Regions from separate parts of the Homo sapiens genome. Here region 2 is linked to region 1. The links are contacts of gene promoters, found by promoter capture Hi-C in blood cells and fetal thymus (Javierre and others, 2016). All regions are on one chromosome and are shown on one strand. The core of a region is centred on a gene start or on the middle of the fragment in contact, and the rest is flanking DNA. Distances in the headings are between cores, read along the strand shown.

Evidence for each region. Contacts are between HindIII fragments. The CHiCAGO score rates a contact against its expected background, and 5 or more counts as called.
Region 2: a contact is called between a fragment that was not itself captured here and the fragment with the promoter of DNALI1 in region 1, in 1 of 17 cell types (activated CD4 T cells). The highest score is 5.0, in activated CD4 T cells.

Annotation. Positions count from the first base shown.
Region 1 is chr1:37,555,635-37,558,334 of GRCh38, forward strand. It overlaps DNALI1 (dynein axonemal light intermediate chain 1), which reads left to right and starts at 1,306. Exons shown (of 6, transcript NM_003462.5): 1 at 1,306-1,441; 2 at 1,969-2,114. The coding sequence starts at 1,361. It also overlaps the pseudogene RPS27P9. RefSeq lists enhancers at 1-883, 1,094-1,388. The HindIII fragment of the contact is 2,071 bases long and covers 80-2,150 here.
Region 2 is chr1:37,845,957-37,848,656 of GRCh38, forward strand. All of the region lies in intron 2 of MTF1 (metal regulatory transcription factor 1), which reads right to left. Among named protein-coding and RNA genes, the nearest start is that of MTF1, 12 kb to the right of the region's middle. The HindIII fragment of the contact is 1,689 bases long and covers 455-2,143 here.

The DNA of each region.
Region 1 (2,700 bases), core at 56-2,555:
TTCATTCTGCCTAGTAATCCCTGAACAGAATTCCTCCTTCTCCCACCCTCACAAACCTGTTTTACCAGGAGGGTATATAAGCTTCTGAACCCTTTTCGGGGTGGGTAATCATACTGTGATTCTCCCCGTGTATACATTTTAAATACATTTGTATGCCTTTTCTCCAATTAATCTGCCTTTTGTGAATTGATTTTTGAGCGAATCTTCAGGGGGCAAAGGGGAGGTTTCCCATTGGCTCCTACTTTGTCATTTCTCCATTTAATTAGAAAAATACTTCAGGCTGGGCGCGGTGGCTCACGCCTGTAATCCCAGCACTTTGGGAGGCCGAGGCAGGCGGACCACGAGGTCAGGAGTTCGAGACCAGCCTGGCCAACGTGGTGAAACCCCGTCTCTACTAAAAATACAAAATTTAGCCGGGCATGGGGGCACGCGCCTGTAGTCCCAGCTACTCAGAAGGCTGAAGCAGGAGAATCGTTTGAACCCGGGAGGCGGAGGTTGCAGTGAGCCGAGATCACGCCACTGCACTTCAGCCTGGGCAACAGAGAGAGACTCCGTCTCAATTTAAAAATCAAAACAAGCCCTTTCTTGCGGTGACGACCTACCCACGAGAACATGCCTCTCGCAAAGGATCTCCTTCATCCCTCCCCAGAAGAGGAGAAGAGGAAACACAAGAAGAAACGCCTGGTGCAGAGCCCCAATTCCTACTTCATGGATGTGAAATGCCCAGGATGCTATAAAATCACCACAGTCTTTAGCCATGCACAAACGGCAGTTTTGTGTGTTGGCTGCTCCACTGTCCTCTGCCAGCCTACAGGAGGAAAAGTAAGGCTTACAGAAGGATGTTCCTTCAGGAGGAAGCAGCACTAAAAGCACTCTGAATCAAGATGAGTGGGAAACAATCTCAATGAACACATTTTGGGAACAACTACAACAACAAAAAAAACCTTCAAAAAACCTAGGAACTCCAGATGACTTCCTTTGGGAATTGTCCCTTAACCCTTCATGAGAAGTCAGGAGATGACTCCTGTTTTTCAGGTGACAAAATTGGAGCATGGCAAAGGTGATCTGCCCACTTCAAATCGCTAGCTAGACGGAGCATAGGGACTCGAACTGCCGTTTTCCTCGCCTCCAAGAGTACAGGGACGAACCGGTGAGCAGAAGGCCTAAGAAGTCAGGCACAAGAGGTTTCTGCCCAGGAGGCACAGAATGAAACTTGCCGGCTGTTGGCCCCGCCCCACTTCGAAGCTCCGCCCAGGCCAAGAAGCGCGGGGGCGGGAGTGAGGGGGCGGTTTCCATGGTGACGGCAAACAAGGCCCACACTGGACAGGGCAGCTGCTGGGTTGCTACTCTCGCCTCCGCCATGATTCCGCCCGCAGACTCTTTGCTCAAGTACGACACCCCAGTGCTGGTGAGCCGGAACACGGAGAAACGGAGCCCCAAGGTAAAGACGGGGGCTCGGGAGACAAAGGAGCCTCGAAACTCCGATAGGGAAAGACACATTCCCGCATGGAGGGTCAGGAATCTCAAGGGACGGGGATTGCAGCGACTGGGAGTAAAGGGAATTGGGAAGTCAGAGAAGGAGGGTGAGAGGATTGTATAGGAAGCCCAGATGTTGGGTGTGACCCCAGAGGGCAGATTTAGGATGGGGAAGGAGGTCACAGGGAGATGGATGGGGCTCACTCTTCTTAATGGTACGCGGGTCCAAGAACAGATGACTAGGTAGTGATTTCCCCATCACCAGAGGTGTGAAAGCACATGCGCCAGAAACACCTGTTCAAGCATTGAGTTGGGGCCAGACTTCATGGCCTCCTTCAGCTCTGTGACATAATTTCTGCTGAGAAGACCGACCCAAAGTAGGCTAGGAAGAGGGGAGGGCTGTGCAGAAGACCTGGAGCAATATACAGGTTGGGGATGTGTGGAGCTGAGCTCCTGAACAATTTCCTGCCCTCACCTGTGCCTTCATCTCAGGCTCGGCTACTGAAAGTCAGCCCCCAGCAGCCTGGACCTTCAGGTTCAGCCCCACAGCCACCCAAGACCAAGCTCCCCTCAACTCCCTGTGTCCCAGATCCTACAAAGCAGGCAGAAGAAATCTTGAATGCCATACTACCCCCAAGGTAAGAAAGTAGGAGCAGTGGCTGGGAGAAGGCCTAAGCTTTTACATCGTGGATTTTGGGAGTGTGGGGGGAGGCACTCTGCCTCTGTTCCTGGCTGGGGTTTCCTCCCAGTATCACAGAGCTCCTAGAACTTACATATGGCTGGATCCTGGCAGGGTGGTGGGAGACCTCTTCTCAATCTACCCTCATTTCCTGCATGCTGTCACCCAATCTCATGGCTTTAGATACCACCTATGTGCTGATGGCTCCCAAATGTGTATTTCCAGCCCTGTCTTCTCCACTAAACTCCAGGACCATATAGTCTTCTGCTTCCTCATTATCTTCATGAAGATATCTAATAGACATCTCAAACTCAATATATTCAAACTAAATCACAATTTCTTCCTTCCCCAATCTGCTCATCCCCCGTATTCTCCTTTTTACTAGGGACTCAAACCACCTTTCATTCCTTTTGATCACTCTCACAGCATGTGTCCTATCCTTCGTCACATTCTTTTGGCTCCACCTTCAAATTCTTTCCCAAATCCAACCACTTTTCACCACCTCTGCTTCCACCATCTTGCTCCTAGTCACTGGTGGCCACTCG
Region 2 (2,700 bases), core at 49-2,548, 290 kb after region 1:
AAAATAGCACAAAATTTCACAAAAAGGGAAAACTAAACCTCCTCAAACTGGATCAGAGCAGGAAATTGCAAAAACGTGTAGGTTTTCATGGTTACATACAGGAGGTATTGCAACATTTGGAACATTTCAATACAACTAAGGTTTATCATTCATACATCCTAAAAATTATGTTCCAGAAATTATACTGTCCTGGGTGCTAGGAATACATATAAAAATTGTCCCTACTCTCAAAGAGCTCAAAGTCAAAAGGAAAATCAGACAAGAACAACATGGTTTGAGAAGTTTTACTGATAACAGATATTCAGCATACTATGGGAATATACCAAAGAAACATGTAACAGACTTCAGTGACCTTAGAAAGGCTTCTTGAAGGTGGTGATCCCCAACCTGAATTTAAAGACATGAGCAGCTGGGTGATGGAGTGAGACCCCATTTAAAAAAAAAAAAAAAAAAAAGCTTTCCTCCAAAAGAGCTTCAGGCTCTAAGCATAACTTTAATCTTCCTGAGTGGCCTCAAACAGCTGTCGATTACCCTGTTAGGGAACATGGAGGGAGCACAGGTTAGGTGCACTGAGGATAACATCTCATGCTAGTAATGGGCACAAAGTAGGAGCTTTCAGAGAATTGATGCTGATTTACAAAGTGTTCTGAGCAGTTCTAGAATACAGAAATATTTAACAAAGATGACTGCCTTGTTAAGATAACAGAATCAGAGAAGAAAGGTGAATGGGATAAGCAAAAGTGAGAAAATAAAACACTGTGACCCCAGAAGGCAAAAATTTAAAAAAATTAGAAAAAGAAAAAAGTCAACACCTGTGGAAAGAAAGAAAAAAGAAAAAAGGCTGGGTTTTTCCTGGAGGAAAAGAAAGTGAAAGTGAGAAGCAGATTTTACACACATTTACAGCCCCCTATTCCACAAGAGAGTTCCTGCTTCTGGGCACCTAGCACATGAACATTCTCATAAATAAATGACTGGCCTGGCTGTTATGGCTATAGAAACTGCCTTTTCCTCCCCATCACTAGTGACTTCCCTTCCCTCTCTGTGTCCGACTCCATTCCCCACACCGGCACTGGTATCATTTCTTCTCCATAATGGACAACCAAAAAGCTCAGAAATATAAGAACCCTGAAGATCTCATTTCGACAGGCCTCCCATCCCCCACCATGAGAGCTGACTTCATCCAGCTGTTCCCCACACCTCAAACCTTTACCCTTACAGAACAAGTACTGCTGTCCCTTCATTTCTTAGCCCTTTTCACAGCCAACAGGTCTCAATACCTGATTCTTGTATCTTTGCAAAAGTGGTGTGTGATGGTAGAAAGCATAGGCTTTGGCATCCAGAAAGTCCTCAGTTCAAATCTCGGTTCTACCAGTTGCTAGTTGTGTGTTTCTAAGTGTCAGTCTGTCATCTGTAAAATGGGGGCTAATAGTATCTATGTTATAGGATTGCTAAGAAAATTAAATACAAAACTATATTAAAGCCCATAACATAGTGATCGGTACATATCAGGTATTCAACAGCCAGCCATCTTCCTCTCTCCACCACCATTGCCAGCATAATAGAAGTCCTCATTCTTTGAGAGCCCTTAGCTCTGCCTGGTGCCCCAAATGCCCACCATGGAAATAATTTTCAGTGGCCTGATACTAAGTCAAAGGAAGCCAAGTATAAGAGAGAGGAGTGGCAAGAGCTGGTATCCACAGAACGCCTGCAGGGGACTACAGACAGGTTCTCATTTTAAAACACTGTTGTATGGGCCAGTGAGGTGGCTCATGCCTGTAAGTGCTCACCTAGCACTTTGGGAGGCTGAGGTGGGAGGCTCACTTGAGCCCAGAAGTTCGAGACCAGCATGGGCAACATAGCAAGACCGCGACTCTCCAAAAAAATAAGAAATTAGCCAGGTGTGGTGGCTGAGGTGGGAGGATCGCTTGAGCTGGTGAGGTCAAGGCTGCAGTGAGCCGTAATCACTCCACTGCACTCAGCCTGGGTGACAAAGTGAGACCCTGTCTCAAAAAATTAAATGAATAAAACACAGTTATAAATGGCGGTTTATGTTCCATGGCAGTATTAATACAACAGTTCAGCTAATTAGGGGTTACCAAGATTTCTATGGGCTATCCTGGAACCTAATCACAATTTATATGTAAGCTTGTCTCAAGGAGAAAACACCTCCCAAAGAGTGCCTAACAAAGAACATTTTAACCTCTTGTTAAACTGGACATTACCTCTTTACCTCCTTCAAGAACCATGGGGGTCTATGAGGAAAAGAAAGCAAATGAACATCCAGCGAACAATCATGATGCACCAGACACTATGCTAAATGTTTTATACATATTACATATGAATAAATCTCATTTAATCTTCACAAAATGCAATGGGATATTTCTATTTCAATTTTATAAAAAAGGAAACAGAGCAGCTTGCCCAAGGCCACATAGCTAGTACATAACAGAACAAAGCTGGAACCTAGGTTGAAACTATCCCTTTGCACATCACAGAAGAAACAAGTAAGCCTGATTTAAATATGAGGAGAAAAAAATAAAATTCAGGTTCTTTTGCCAATGTCATATAACAGCAAAATGTTGGCAGTACTTAATATGTACAACCTATGTGAAATGTAAATCGAGACCTATAATTCCTATAGCACCAAGTTTGAAACCCAATTGTACACAAAACCAGTCTAGTCCCTTTTCCAGGCCAGTG